Linked DNA regions of Homo sapiens: regions 1, 2, 3 and 4 are each linked to region 5. The links are contacts of gene promoters, found by promoter capture Hi-C in blood cells and fetal thymus (Javierre and others, 2016). All regions are on one chromosome and are shown on one strand. Each heading gives the region's core, a stretch centred on a gene start or on the middle of the fragment in contact. The rest is flanking DNA. Distances are from core to core; before and after follow the strand shown.

Evidence for each region. Contacts are between HindIII fragments. The CHiCAGO score rates a contact against its expected background, and 5 or more counts as called.
Region 1: a contact is called between a fragment that was not itself captured here and the fragment with the promoter of LINC02875 in region 5, in 2 of 17 cell types (naive B cells and naive CD4 T cells). The highest score is 5.5, in naive B cells.
Region 2: a fragment that was not itself captured here is called in contact with the fragment with the promoter of LINC02875 in region 5 in 1 of 17 cell types (monocytes); the score reaches 5.7 in monocytes.
Region 3: a contact is called between a fragment that was not itself captured here and the fragment with the promoter of LINC02875 in region 5, in 2 of 17 cell types (naive B cells and naive CD8 T cells). The highest score is 5.5, in naive B cells.
Region 4: a fragment that was not itself captured here is called in contact with the fragment with the promoter of LINC02875 in region 5 in 1 of 17 cell types (erythroblasts); the score reaches 6.3 in erythroblasts.

The regions. Positions count from the first base shown.
Region 1 is chr17:61,006,461-61,009,750 of GRCh38, forward strand. All of the region lies in intron 15 of BCAS3 (BCAS3 microtubule associated cell migration factor), which reads left to right. Among named protein-coding and RNA genes, the nearest start is that of BCAS3-AS1, 130 kb to the right of the region's middle. The HindIII fragment of the contact is 376 bases long and covers 1,819-2,194 here.
Region 2 is chr17:61,804,979-61,808,289 of GRCh38, forward strand. The region is part of intron 7 of BRIP1 (BRCA1 interacting DNA helicase 1); the gene reads right to left. Among named protein-coding and RNA genes, the nearest start is that of BRIP1, 57 kb to the right of the region's middle. The HindIII fragment of the contact is 2,450 bases long and covers 837-3,286 here.
Region 3 is chr17:61,026,571-61,029,425 of GRCh38, forward strand. All of the region lies in intron 16 of BCAS3 (BCAS3 microtubule associated cell migration factor), which reads left to right. Among named protein-coding and RNA genes, the nearest start is that of BCAS3-AS1, 110 kb to the right of the region's middle. The HindIII fragment of the contact is 222 bases long and covers 1,347-1,568 here.
Region 4 is chr17:60,963,692-60,966,668 of GRCh38, forward strand. The region is part of intron 14 of BCAS3 (BCAS3 microtubule associated cell migration factor); the gene reads left to right. Among named protein-coding and RNA genes, the nearest start is that of BCAS3-AS1, 170 kb to the right of the region's middle. The HindIII fragment of the contact is 4,425 bases long and covers 1-2,977 here.
Region 5 is chr17:61,410,173-61,413,383 of GRCh38, forward strand. It overlaps LINC02875 (long intergenic non-protein coding RNA 2875), which reads left to right and starts at 1,579. Exons shown (of 1, transcript NR_160788.1): 1 at 1,579-3,108. RefSeq lists an enhancer at 294-876 and silencers at 756-925, 2,446-2,505, 2,526-2,585. The HindIII fragment of the contact is 15,544 bases long and covers 1-3,211 here.

The DNA of each region.
Region 1 (3,290 bases), core at 757-3,256, 400 kb before region 5:
AAGATAGGATTCTATATTTTTTCCATCTACAGTAAAGCATTTCTATTTACTCTGTTGATATACAAAATTCATTGTGAGGTAAAGATGGGAGAGTTGAGTATAGGGTATTTTCAAGAAATAATTTAATGAGGACTTATACTTTGGGGAGCACATTTCACCTCAGACTTGTTCTAAGGGATGTTAGATTATGGAGCCTTAATTCAGGGATTTTTCATTAGGCTAAAACTCCACTTTTGAGCACTTAGTGTCAGTACTATATTTGAACTTGATTCAGAGGAGTGGGAAATTTTGAGGGTGCTTTAATATGATACATTTAGAAATAGGTTGAGGCTTAAGGTCAAAGATCTTTTTAAAAAATTTTTATTTATACGTATGAAGAATTTACTTTCTTCCCTCTTGTGTTAAATATAGTCTTTTTACTGTTATATTTGATTTTTCATTGTTGAAGGAGTGTCAAACTACAATCCTAATACGTAAAATGAATTAAAAATTGCTAAACCTTCTTAAATTTTAAGAGCACCAACTCTTAATAAACTTTCTTCATTCCAAAATCTTGGAGTGCTCTAAGAATAATAAGTAATGAACTTACCACTTTGAGGGAGGAGATTTTGTTCATTTAACTTACAAGTTTGGGTTGACTCTGTGATTGAAACTTAATTGCATGAAACTTTTCAGACAGATTTTTTATATTTCAGTAGAATTCCTCACAGCTAGTTCTATTATTTTTCCCTTTGTGTTCTTGCATTTTATAAACATTGTTTCTAACTGTTGATTTCATCTCCTTTTCTAGGGAATTTTTGCCTCCTAAGTTTTCAATATTCCTTGTTCTAGGCCCACCTTGTTACCTTTTGGAGTTGTGTCAACTATACTTGCTGTACTTAGAATTTTAGCAACAGGAATTATTTCTTTATGACTTTTAATTTTTAGGCATCAAATTTCTAAATTTATTGGGTTTATTTTAGCTTTAAGAAAAGAAAAATACTTAAATTTGTATGTTGTAGTAGCCAACACATTCAGATAATAATTAACAGATGATAATGGATTCACAATAGAAAAGGAAAACTACCTAGCAAATTATTTATTGGAGTATTCGTACATAAATATATACAGTTTCAATTCTCCTGAAAGTACACTTTTAATTCTAGTGACATTTAATAAGCCCTAGGCAAAGCTCCATGCAGGCTACTTTGTATGTAGTGGGGAGAAGTGATGACACTATCATTAATAATCTCAATCCCCATCCTGTTTAAAAAAAAAAAAGAAAGATTGGATTCTTGTTTTCAAGTCCATTTTGTGGGAGATTTCTCTAATCTTCCTACCTTCTCACCCTTTCTCAAAGTACCTACAGTAATGTCTATGGTGACGTGAACTTTTTACTCAAAGAAAGCAACAAGTGTTTTTGCTTGAAATGCATCAAAAATTGCAGTGTTTTTACTTCACCATCGATTGCCTCCAAAAAAAAGTTATAGGCAAAATGAATCAGTGCCCACACAGGATTGTCCTTCAGTATTTTCTGTCTTTATTTGTCACCCAAACTGTTTGTTGTGTTTATAGTCTTTAAAAATGTGTGTCTGTGTGTCGACACACACACACACACACACACATAAAATTCATTTTCTTTTAGTGTGTGTTCTACTCTCCTTGGCTCCTGTGAACAAGCATTGCTTCCGCCCAGTTTGGTATGTGGGTCAGAAGGCACTGTTTCTCACCAGGGTGCTGCTGTTTCCTTTTCCGACTTGAGTAGATTGCAGATTATACTGGAACATGCCTGAGAAAAGGTCATAAAGGAGGGTGAAAGTCCTGGAACTGCAGCTGGGAAGCTTGACATTCTCATCTAGGAAAGGGGAGAAGAGAGAGATGGAGAGAGAGACACACACTCCCATCCCAACCAAAAATAACCCACCTGCAGGAAATTCCCTTCTACACAGGGTATTTTTTGTTAAATAACTATTGAGAGTTTGGTTGAAAAAACTTTAATGTTAAATTGGATGGCAAGCAAGAACTAAGCAGTGTTTTTAACTTTTCAGAGCCCACATTTCCAGTGACTATTTCAAAACAAGCTACCATTGTATTCTTTGACAGAGTCAAGAAGTCAGAGCTTTTCAACTACAGAATTAACTTAGTTAAACTCCTTGGTATATTTTAGATTTTTATCCCTGTCAATTCCACAGCAAGATATTAAAAACAGTCCAAAAGCTTTGCTCTTCTGTAGAAGACAAAAGTTTACCAAAAAATAAAAAATAAAAAAATAAAAAAAAAGGCCCCGTAGAACTCATCATCTAGTTTTTATTTTTGAAAGATATGATATAGGGAATAGAACATCTACATGATGTCTTAGAATAGGTAAAGTGTTGCAAAGAGGGCAAAAATAAAGGAGATATTTGGGACTGGGGCTGTTTCCGTAGAATTGTCTTCTGAGGAGTGCCAGAGAGTCACATTGACCTCGGGCTTCAGTGTGGCTCAGTAATCCGATTTCAAAATGCAAGAGTTCCAAATAGGAGACCAAAGACACTAGGTGAGGAGCTTATATCCTAGAACAATAGTGGGTGTTGTAGATAAGTGTATGGAGAGGTGATGAGAACAGAATTTAATACAGTCGTAGGAGTCTAGAGTACTGAGTTATAGGAAGGTGTCTATTGTAAACCTTCAGAAAAGTGGAGTGCCTAAAGTGGATAAGGTCTGTGTCTGTGGTAAGAATAAGTGGGATGATATGTGGACCTCCTAATAACACTGCTCTTTCACAGGGCACCATTGCTTAGTGTCCTTTAGCTCTTTTTGCAAATGAAGCTTTGCCGTTTCTATACTTATCTCTAATACTCTAATACTATACTTACCTCATATGTCTAATGACAACAGAAGGACAGTGCTCTTTTTATCCTCCAAATGTTTCACTTGACCCACTTTATTCCATTGTAGGTCTTAGTTTCTCATACCTTCTGTTCCTAAAGAATCTTTCTTTGTCCTCCATTAACAATAACTTTTAGAAACCTGTAACAAAAATTTCTCTCTCTCTCTGGTATGACACTCCTTTAAGGTACTTTCTGATCTACAACTATTGTCATTTGATTCCTTAATGTTATTTTAACTGATTTTATGTCCTTTGGTTCACAATATGGTAAGATATGGAAATTTTTTAAAGGTAGAAAGGATGCAAATACATTCATTTTTTATTTTCCCTCTTCTTGTTTGTATCTCGGAAGAAAGACAACTATACATATGTACACACAGATACACTGATAGTAACTTTAATATTTAACATAATCTGAAATGTTCAACAATTTCAGTTTTGC
Region 2 (3,311 bases), core at 812-3,311, 400 kb after region 5:
TGTGTGTGTGTGTGTGTGTGTGTAAAATTAAATTGTATTTGTATACGTCTGTATAATAAATTAAATTGTATATATATACACACACATATATATGCATATATATAATCTTTACATGTATTTTTATCTATGAATTATCCAAAAGGAGAATCCGTGTTTTCAAAACATACATACATCAATACATACACAAATGTATCTAGATATTGCTAGAAACAAAGTAAACCATAAGAGATTCATAACCTATAAAAGAATGTCAGCAAATCAAAGGACAAGACATGAATAGCTGAGGACCAGTTCTCCTAAAGCTTTGTATTCAGCCATGTTAAAGGATGATACCTGTTAGTCCTCCAAAGTATTAAAAATAAAAATTAGGAGGAAAGGACTCATCTAACTATATTTATTTAGGCCATTTTCTACATTATTTTCACTCACTTTCTCTAACCTCTACTGTTCTTATTCTTCATACTGTGTCAACTTCTCCCTACCTCAATGCCATCTTTGGATTTTGTTTCTAGTGTAACCAAAATAGCAATGGATGAGGAATCAGAAAATTTGGGTTCTGGTCCCTCCTTGCTAATTACTTGTCTGACTGAGAAAACTCCAGGGCCCATTTTTCTCATGTGACTAAGCATCAAAAGAATATTTGAACCAGAAGGCTTGTAAGATTCCTTCTGACTCACTGACTATATCATCTCTAAAATTCCTTCCAGCTCTAAAATTCTGTGATTCAGGTAAAAACGTGTCAATCATCTTTCATACTCTCAGTTTGATACAGACTGAGTTTAATAATAGGACATTCACCATTTCTTCATTCCAAGCTTCTTCCATACAATTCTGAAAGCTTACCTTTATACAAAATGATCACTAAAGTGCCTTTAGAATCTATGACTATGAGCTATTAAGTCTCATTTTAACCAAAAAAAGATATATATCTAAAATAATATTTCAGAATTGTCATTCCTGACTCTAGTTAAAATTATTTTTTCTTAACTGAAACAAAAATTAACTTTTAACAGATAAGTGCATACTTTTCCAGTATAAGGGCACTTTAGTAAAAGAAACAATGAACAAAAACACATGTGCCTTGGATCAAGCCAAAAAATCAGAAAGTTTACACTTTAAGGGCAGTTAGAATGACACCCCTCTGCAGGCTGACAGCAAAACCAGAAAAGCTCATCCATTTTAGCAGTGTAACACAACCCTGAGGAAGTCTGTCAATTGAAGTGTTATCACACTTTAAACACTTCCATTCAAACTGTCAGTTATCTATTTATCATTTCGCTTTGGTAATTCAGTCAAAGTAAACACAGACACCTATGGTGACTTTGTAATTGCCCTTCATTACAATACCAAATTACTAACAGGGCTTGAGAACAAGAAAGAGGATGTTCATGTATGCCCGTGAGGTAAGCATTCTGAGGCAGAATTAGGTCAAGACAAACCACAAGCAGATATCTTCAATTATTCATATTACTAATATTAAAAAATAAAATACCTGTTCACTTTAAGACAAACTAAAGGCCAATGAAAAATTCGGAACATTGAAGTCTACTGAATTCCTTTTTATTTTTACATGATTCAAACTTATGAGTAAAGATCAATAAAAACGTAACCAGCACTGTAGGATTCTAGGTTACACAAAATGAAACTGTCTGCCTTCAATACACAATCTTACACTTTATCATTGCTTTTACCAATGTATTTTACCAATGTATGTTTTTGGTTGGTTGGTTGTTTTTGAGACAAGAGCCTTGCTCTGTTGCCCAGGCTGCAGTGCAGTGGCGCGATCTTGGCTCACTGCAACCTCTGCCTCCTGGGTTCAAGCGATTCTCATGCCTCAGCCTCCCAAGTAGCTGGGATTACAAGCATGCGCCACCACGCCCAGCTAATTTTTTGTATTTTTAGTAGAGATGTGTTTTGCCATGTTGGCCAGGCCAGTCTCGAACTCCTGACCTCAAGTGCCCGCCTCTGCCTCCCAAAGTGCTGGGATTACAGGCATGAACCATCAGGCCCAGCCAATGTATTTTTTACAAATACATAATTAATTTCCCCAATAACAAGTAAAACAAAAAAAGATAAAAATATGGTGACAATGCCAGCAAGTCTTCTTGCATAGGCTATATAGCCAAAAAATAAATTTCAAGCATTTGAGGAATTCAGCAGATCACTTAGTCACTATGGAAAGCAGTCTACTTATGCATGAAATTCATGGAGTTTTACCATAAAGAGCTTTATTTTATTATTTTTGAACACCTGACACTTAATACTTTCATCTCTCCTTGAAGAGAAGTTTTTTAATATACAGAGTAAAGGAATTTCACAATTCCTCAGTTAGTTAGAAATAACTCTTTGGAAATAAATATGACTGTAGGATTTCAACAATGACTTTGATTCAGTAATTCTGTATTCTCTCCTGGCTCGGAACAAGTCACTCAAGTTTTGCCATTGGAACACCTTACTACTTATACTTTATAATCTCGTTTGAATATCTGTTAAAGTATCTTTTGACCATCCCTAAATAAAGTTTAAATAAATTTTCATCTATAAAAGAGAGTATTAAGGAAGAAAAGCATAAAACAAAATAATTCACATTATATGGTAGGGGGTGATATATCAATGAAATGAAACTCTGGGGGCTATAGCTCACAGTTTTTTGTGTAGAACCAACTCTAATAAGATACTAGTGAAAAACAAAACAACTCTAAAAATATATTAAAATATCATTGGTCACTTCATAGTAATCAATTTATGGTTCACTGATTTGGGGGTATAATTTCATACTTGCAACTTCAATTTTAGAGTAAACTAATTATCACACCAGAACATAGGCTCCCAAACTAATACTGCCAAAAGAAATTATTTGAAAGTCATATAAGTCTTTAGTAAGAAAGAATTCTCTATTTCCACCAAGCCCAAATTCATATTATTCTAATTTCCCTGGAAAATTTCAAAACCACCAATGACATCTTTTGAAAGTTAATAATTTAGTATAACTTTTAAAAGAGGGGTTTGTATTTATCAGAATTATGAGGTGGGATAATCATTATATTTCTCATTCAATTAAGAAAATTCAAACTTTGCCCAGACAGCCTAAATAAACTATCTGCTTTTGAAGTTTTTAAGTATATAAAGTATATTAATTAGATCTAATTAGACTAAACCATTTAAACACTTCTATCTCCTCATATGATATCATCCAAGTTTGACTATTTTTGGTAGCAGGATTTAAAAGAAGAAACTAAGATGTCTGACTACAACAGAAATTAATTTCAAGGAATTAAATATCCCAAGCTTTAAGACCAAATCCCATACTT
Region 3 (2,855 bases), core at 208-2,707, 380 kb before region 5:
GCTTCAGCAGTGAATTTTATTTTATTTTAACTTAGAAATACTACAGGGGTGCTCCAGAAAAGGGGGAGAAATAGAAAATTTTGAATCTCTAACTCTGAAAATTAAGGGCCTTGTTACTACACATCATTCTGTTTATTGGTTATATCAGACAGTATGTACAGCAGAATTGTAAATGATTACTAATTTTTTAGTTATTTTTATCCATACTCTATAACAGTATGATATACTTGTATTTGCTAATGTTAAATGAGTTTTTCTCTAATTTTTTGTGCATTTTTCCCCCTTTTCCATGAAGGCCTTATCTCTTTGGAGCGGGGTGTTTTTCCATAAAAGCCCCATGGTGAGTTCCAGTTCAGTCCCGCATGCCTCATTCATTTGCTGTACTCTCAAAAAGTAATTTGTTTTGTAGTTTTGTTTCCAGTTGCATGGCCTGATCACAGATAGATGCACCAAGTTACTGAATAATTTGTAGATGGAACATGAATGTTGATATTTAAGCTTTAGAAAAGTGGTTTTCTTGGTTTCACTTCATTCTTTAAAAAGTAAAAAACAAAAAAAAAAAAACCACAGATGAATTTTTTTTAAATAGAAGAATTCTCTCATAATGCTCGTAAATATTACAAGACAAGGCTAACACCCAAGTTTAAAGCTTTGAGTATTATGGCATTAGAAGTTACCTACATATCATGCATAGCATTTGAGGACATGATTTATTTTGAAATATAAATATATTTAAGGTATACCAAAAGCACCTTATAAAGTTTTTGTTGCATTTTATTTGGTCCTAAAGAGACAAAAGTTCTGTTTTTGAATAGTTTAGGTATTTAAGGAGCTACATAATGACAAAATATATATTTTACATAAAACCTCCTAAATAATTTATTATTTTGAATTATTAGCACATACTCATCATAGCTTAATTATTTGGTAAATTCTTTCATGTCAGTGCACAGAATACAGCTTTGTCAGTCTTAGACAGGAAGGTCATAGAAAAGAATTCGAATATATTTAATACTTTCATGTAAAGATAGGAAGTAGAATGTGTTAAGAATGGTATAAAATGTTTAATGGTTAAGAGTCAGACTGCCTGGGTCTTAGATCCCAATTGACACACTTACTAGCTATATGATTTGGGGGGAGTTTTCTAAAACCTTTCTATTTCTTATTTCCTTATGTATTAAATGTACCTATGTAATGGACTCACTATGAGTATTAAATAAGCTGATACATATCTCAGTATGTGTTAGTATATAACAGTGCCTGGCACATAGTAAATGTGCAGTAAATGTTAGCTGCTACCACTGTTTCTTTTCCTGTTTCAGGGAAAAATACCGTGTTTCAAAAGAAGCTTATTTAAATTAGATTATGTTTTTCACTTTTAAGGATATGTTAACCAGTGCGAAGTTTTGAGAAATGTAAGCTATATTAATTTTATTAATTTAGTCAGAATACTGAAAAGAGTTCTGCACATATGTGTAGTTCTCATAACTGCTAAATGGGGATTGTTCATACTGTTCTATTACACTAGAAAAAAACATTCCAACGTTTTTTCCTCTTGGACAGAAAGAAGCTTAAATAGTTCTTTAAGGTTAATTATTATTTGACACAAACTTATTTCAATGTTTATATGCCATAGGAAGATCTGAAAATTTTGTTATTGCTTAATAATAGGTGACATAAAACAAATCAACATAAAATTTTCCTCCTTGAAAATTATAATTAGACACAGTTTGCAAAACTATTCTAAACAAATTCAGGATATACAAGAATATAAATCTCATGAAAGTTGATCTTTATTCATTTTGTTAACCAGATGTCTTCTAAAAACAAATAAGATACACAGATCTTACTTATGAGCCTTCCAGTGATCAGTGAATTTTAAATGCCACATTCAACATATGACAAAATTTCTTTGTAAACTTAGAATTAAATTCCATTTTAGGATAAATTCTTCTTCTAAGTACAAAGCAAAGAGTTGTAGTATGTTAATAAAGATTGAAGTTTTGCATAGAAGTAAAAGATGGAATAACAACTGTTGTATGTTAAGTAAGTAAAGTTCATTCCTTCAACAGCTTACGTGCTCCTCACATTTAAGCAAAAGCACTTGTCAACCAGAAATGATTTGAGGTTGAAACAAGATTAAAAGAGCCAGATTAAAGAAAGGGATATATTAAATATAGTAGACTTTTAAATCATTGCCTGTCTTTTAGAAGACTGCTTTGTGGTTTGTTTGATGCCATCGTTAGCTCACAAGAAACTCGTTTTTAGTCACTTATACTAGACTAAAAGGTTCTCCTTTAAAATGTTACTTTCCCAGTGGTGCATGTTTTTTCCATTAAGATCTTAATGAAACCTCAAATTAAGGCAGCAAATGAATATAAATTTGACAACTTCTTCCATTTTGTTTATAAGAGCTCCTTTGTTTTAATAGTTTTTGCTATTTTTCCATGTTATTTAGCATTCAACCTGAGAATGTTTTTATGTACTGTTCTGAAATAAAACATTATATGCTAAATAAATATGTTTTTAGTATATCCAGTTATAGGGTAATATATGTATTTTGGATGAAAAATGAAATTTTTAAATGAAATGTAAATTTTCTACAAACTTTTTATTAGTTTCGAGTTGCAACGTTAACACTTAGCTAAGAATTTGCTTTTGGTATATCACAATTTCTGCTAGTTCTTTATTCTCCATTAAACAGGTTTAGTCCTTTACATTCATATACTTTCAGATGAGTCGTTATAAAATACAGTCGTTCCCTTTGGTAACAAAATAAGCTTGTTGGAAAGTAAACTATGCATCTTCAACATTTTAGTCACTTTGGACTTCCCTGGTATTATGTGTCATCTAGG
Region 4 (2,977 bases), core at 2-2,501, 450 kb before region 5:
ACCACAGGCGCCTGCCACCATGCCCAGCTAATTTTTTGTATTTTTAGTAGAGACAGGCTTTCACTGTGTTAGCCAGGATGGTCTCGATCTCCTGACCTCATGATCCACCCGCCTCGGCCTCCCAAAGTGCTGGGATTACAGGCGTGAGCCACCACACCCGGCCAAATGCTACTGGTTTTTGTATGTTCATTTTATAACTTGCAACTTTACTGAATTTGCTGATCAGCTGTAACAATTTTTTGGTGAGTTCTGTAGCCTTTTCTGGATATAAGATCATGTTGTCTGCAAACAAGGCTGATTTGAATTCTTCCTTTCCAATTTGGTTGCTCTTTATTTCTTTCTCTTGCCTAATTGCTCTGGCCAGGACTGGCAGTATTATGTTGAGTAACCGTAGTGAGAGTGGACATACTCGTCTTGTTCCAGTCTTTAGAGGAAAGGCCTTCATTTTTTCCCTGTTCCGTATGATGGTAGCTGTGGATTTGTCATATATGGTCTTTATTATTTTGAAGTATGTTGTTTCTATACCCATTTTGATTAGGGGTTTTTTTATATCATAAAGGATGTTGAATTTTATAAAATACTTTTTCAGTATCTATTGAAATATGTGGTTTTTGTTTTTGATTCTGTTAATATGATATATCATGTTTATTGAGTTGCTTATGTTGAACCATCCTTGCATCCCTGGAATGAATCCCATTTGATATTATAAATGATCTTTTTAGTGTGTTGTTGAATTCTGTTTGCTAGTATTTTGTTGAGGATTTTCACATATATGTTCATCACGGATATTGGCCTGTAGTTTTCTTTTCTTGTTGTCGTGTCCTTATCTGATTTTACTGTCAAGGTAATGCTGGCCTTATAGAATGAGTTTGGAAGTATGTCCTCCTCTTCAATTTTTTTGAAGAGTTTGAGTACAATTGGTATTAATTCTTCTTTAAATGTTTGGTAGAATTCAGCAGTGAAGTTGTGAAGTCCTGGGATTTTCTTGCTTTTTATGGAGGCTTTTTATTACAGCTTCAGTTTTGTTACTTGTTATTGGTTTGTTGAGGTTTTCTGTTTCTTCATGATTCAATCTTGGAGGTTGTATGTTTCCAGAAATTTATCCATTTCTTCTAGGTTTTCCAGTTTGTTGGTATATAATTGTTCATAGTAGTCTCTAATGATTTTTTGTGTTTCTGAGGTCTCAGTTGTTATGTGTCCTTTCTTTGTTTCTGATTTTATTTATTTAGGTCTTCTCTCTTTTTTCTTAGTCTAGCTCAAGACTTGTTGATTTTGTTTACATTTTTGAAAACCAATGTTTTGTTCTATTGATCTGTATTTCTTTTTAGCTTCGATTTCATTAGTTCCTGCTCTGATCTTTATTATTTCTGTCTTTACTATTTTTGACTTTGGTTTGTTCTTGCTTCTAGTTCCTTGAGGTATATCATTAGGTTGTTCATTTGAAGCCTTTCATTTTTCTGATATAGGCATTTATTGCTACAAACTTGCCTGTTAGTACTGCTTTTGCTATATCCCATAGGTTTTGGTATATTGAATTTTTTTTTTTTTTTTTTTTGAGATGGAGTCTCACTCCAGGCTGGAGTGCAGTGGCGCAATCTTGGCTCACTGCAACCTCTGCCTCCTGAGTTCAAGTGATTCTCCTGCCTCAGCCTCCAGAGTAACTGGGATTATAGGCGCCCGCCACCACACCTGGCTAATTTTTGTATTTTTAGTAGAGATGGAGTTTCACCATGTTGGCCAGGCTGGTCTTGAACTTCTGACCTCAAGTGATCTGCCCCCTCGGCTTACCAAAGTGCTGGGATTACAGGCATGAGCCACCACGCCCGGCCTATATATTGCATTTCCATTTTTCCATTTTCACTTGTTTCAAGACATTTTAAAATTTCTTTCTTAATTAATTTCTTCATTGACCTATTGGTCACTCAGGAGCATGTTTTTTAATTTCTATGTGTTTATATATTTTCCCCAGTTCTTCTTATTAAGTTCTAGTTTTAGTCCATTGTGGCCAGAAAAGATATTTGATATGATTTTTATTTTAAAAGTTTTGTTCAGATTTGTTTTATGACCTAAGATATGGTCTCTTCTGGAGAATGTCCCATGTGCTAGTAAAGAAAATGTATGCTGCAGCAGTTGGATAAAATGTTCTCTAAACGTAGTTAGGCTTGTTGGATCTGGTGTGTAGTTTAACTCTGCTGTTTCATTGTTGATTTTATGTCTGAATGATTTGTCCATTACTGGAGTGGGGTCTCCTTCTTTTATTGTATTGCAGTCTATCTCTGTTTTAGATCTATTAATATTTTCTTTATAGACTTGAGATGTCCAGTGTTGGTTGAATATTTATAATTGTTACATATGTTTACTTAATTGACCCCTTTATCATTGTATAGTGTCCTTCTCTGTCTCTCTTTATAATCTTAGATTGGTTGTCTATTTTTTCATGTAAGTATAGCTATTCCTGCTCTGTTTTGGTTTCCAGATACGTGGAGTATCTTTTCTCACCCCTTCACTTTCAGTCTATGTGTGTCTTTATAGGTGAAGTGGATTTCTTGAAGGCAGCATGTAACTTGGTCTTGTTTCTTTATCCATTCAGCCACTCCGTGCCTTTTAGTTGGATAATCGAGACCATTTACATTCAGCCTTATTATTGATAAGTAAGAAGATACTACTGCCATTCTTTTGCTAGTTTTCTGGTTGTTTCTTTCTTAGTGCCTTCCTTTGTGGGTAAGTTATTTTCTCTGGTATTATGCTGTTAATTTGTTGCATTTCTTTTTAGTGAGTCTGTTACAGGATTTTGTGTTACAAGTTTTTGTGTTGTGGTTACCAGGAGGCTTATAGAGACATCTTATAATAGATATAACAAGTTATTTTAAAGAGACTACAACTTATCTTAGATCACAAATAGAAGAGTAGAAACAAAGGCAGGCATAAAGAACATGTAAAAAAAATTTATACTTTTACTCTATCACCCAACTTTTTT
Region 5 (3,211 bases), core at 329-2,828:
CCAGCTGTGTCAGTCTCCATTAGGCTGGTCCTTCCCCGAGACCCACTCCTGCAAGGACAGCTGCCTCCCACCCCGCGCCGGTGAGCTCCCCCTCCTTGCCCAGCTAGCAGGTGTCTCCAGCCCCCACTTCTAGCAGTGGGAGCTGGGCGGGCACTCCTTTAGCCCTGGGTCTGGTCGGTCACCGAGCACGCCACCTCCTTCCCAGTTCTCTCCTCTTTAAGCCTTGGGGACCCTGAACGCCCTGCCCCAACAGGCTGCCCACCTTGGGCACTGCACAGGGTGGGGCTTGGGGAGGGTGCTGGCTTCCAAAACACCAGGGACGTTGAGATGGAGGAACGGTGATGGTGAAGGTGGAATGGACAGTTGGGCCCCCAGACTCCCAGGACGCCTTTGTGGGCCGATACATTTGCAAGGAGCGAGAGAGAGAGAACCAGGCCCGCCTCTTCAGGATGGTGCTGCCCCCAGGCCACGCCGAATGCGGCTGGAGCAGGGAGGGGACTCAGCCAGTGCACGAGTGGGAGGTTGCAGTAGAACGTATCCCAACCCCAGAGGGTGGGTTCTGGCTTCCCTGCCTCAGACCTGCGGGCAGGTCCGGGAACCCGACAGGGACAGAGAAGCCCGTTTTCCAGCCTAAATAGAAGCTCGTGGGCAGCGCGTTTGCTGGAGGTCGCTTTGGGCTGAAACGCCTCTCATACTCCTAGAGGAGCGGCGCGTTTGCGTCCCGCGGCTTCTCACTTTCAGCAGGACATTAGGAGGGAGACGAGAGTCGGCTGCGCGCCCGCGGCGGCCTACGTACAGGGCTGCGGACACCAGGGGGCAGCACCGACTTAGGGTCGCGGGAGGGGTGCGGGTGCGGGCATGGGCGCGGGGGAGGCGGGTGCCTGCGAAGGCCGGGCGGGGCGGCCTAGTCGCGGCCGTTTTTAGGCCGCGTCGTTGCTGCAGCAACCCGGGTGGGGTGGGGTGGGACTCCAGGGCCTCGAGATCCCCCACACCACTTTCGCCGCCACCTCCCGCCGCACATGTCCCCTCCGAGTCGCCCACCCGGCGCTCCGCGGGGCCCCAGCTGGTAGCCTGAGTGCGACTGCGGGAACCCGCGGCCGGCGGCTGGGCCTTGTCCCAGACAAAGGCTAGGCCACTCCCATGTCCAATTAAGCCACCCTCCTCCCCGGCCTCCCAGCCCTCATTGTCCCCGGGGTCGCCAATTAGCCTAGGCGCCCGGCGTACCCGCCGCTCCGGTGCCGCAAGGCCTCCTTAACCCTTCAGGGCCTGGCCCGGGGTCCTTGGACGGCAGAGCCGCCGGCACACGCGTGGCAGGAGGGCCAGTGCTGGGACGATGGCGATACCTGCTGGCGGCCTAGCCTGTCGCCTCGGGCTCTCGCGTGTGGGGCGTGTGAGGTCTAAGAGGGAATTGTGCGTGTCGGTGTGGGGTGGCGCGTGCGATTCCCGGAGGAACTCGGAGATGGAGGGTGTGAGTGCAGGGGCTCCGAGAGACCCCTAGCGGCTAAGCCGCCCGGATCCCAAGGCCCAGGGGACCTCATTTCCTCTCGGGTTAATCGGAATCTTCCGAGCCCTCAAGCCCTTCCTCCTCCACTCCCCCGCCGCTGCTGTGGAGAACCGGAGCCACCGGTATGGCCTGGCCCTGCCCTCCCGAAGGCCGCAGCTCCCGGGCCCGCCTCCCCAGCTGACCGCGAACTCCTGCGTGGGGTGCTCCTGGGGCGGGAGGGGCGCGCTCAGCCTCGCTCTCCCCGGGACTCTCACGCTCAAGCGCCCCGGCTTGAGGCCGGGACCCCCTATTTCCCGGTTATGGGACGGCCCCTTGAGGGACAGCCTCTACGAGCCCTGGATTTATACCCCGAGCCTGCCTTCCTCCGCTCTGGGAAGGACCCAAAATCCAGTCCCGCTTCCTCCCCCTCCTTCGCTGTCCTTGGCCCCGAGGTGCGGAGCACCGGCGGTCAGGCGGGATCCCGCAGGAGGCCGAGCGCTCCCTGCTCGCAGGACAGGGCGGCAGCGGAGGGAGCCCCCGCCCTCTTGGGAGGAAGCCCGAGCTCCGGGTCTCCTGGGCACCCTCCCGGGAGCGCCTTCGGGGTGGAGGCTGGTTGCCGGGCGCTGAACGTGTCCGAGCACGCCCGGGGCGGTTTTGCACTTGGACTTCCTTTTGGGCTCTCCGGAGGCGCATATCTGTTCCTCCTATTGGATGGGGCCGGGGACCCCAAACCCACTCCGGAAGCACCGATTTCCAGCGCTGACGGCCGCGCCTGGTTTCCCAGCGAGTCCTCTTGGCAGCTCCCGCAGCTCCCCGCCGGGAGCACGAGTGGGAGCGAACCCAGAGCCCGCCCAGGCCTCGGGCCTCGGCAACTCCTCACAGGTCCACGAGATGGCGCTGCAGGCCAGGGCCCGGGCCGCGGCCTCACAGCCCGCCTCGGGCGAGAGCGGGAGATAGACTGCGGACCCCGGCAAGCGGGGCACGGAGGCACAGCCACCGACACAGGCAGAGCCGGGTCCGGAGCCCGGCACAGGCCGCCGAGGGACCGAGGGACTCCGGGGCTGCGGACACACTGAGCGGAGGGCTTGAGGCTCGGGGTGGGGCCTTCTCCCCTGCTGCCAGAACCGCCCGGCAGCGCCAGCTCGGCGACCTTCCAGGCTGCTGCAGACCCCAGCTTGTCCTCTTCTGCGCGCCCGCGGGGCTGGGCCCTCGCGTTCTCTCTGCGGGAAGTGAGCCGCCGGCCTCCGGCCTCCTGGGCCCCTCCGAAGGGGGCTGTGGCTGGCATCCGCAGCGCGCGGGGCGCACGGCCCTAGGAGCGCGGGGCCCACTCGACGGTGAGGACTTACGGGCGGGATAGGGGAAGGATCGGCGGGGATCCAGCGCTCCTCCAGCGGAGAGGGCCCCCTCGGCTCCGACCCGCCCTCCTCACCACCCTCATCCGGCTCTTCAGGGCGGGGTCTTCAGGGTCGAGGGCAGGATGTGCCCTGTGGAGCTGCTCACCTAAGTTCCTGCCTCCATAGGGGAGGCTTTGGGCTGCGTTATTCCAGCGGGAGGTGGTGGGGACTGGGGAGGGCCCAGGGGTCAGCCTGAGAATCTCGCCCTTGGATTAAAAGCCACCAATGCTCTGGGTCAAGTCTCAATGGGAGGCTGGGGATGTAAGACCCGTTGGCTGGGGAATGCCAGAGTTGGAGGGGGTGGGGCTTAGAAGCCTGTTTCCAGCTGACCTTT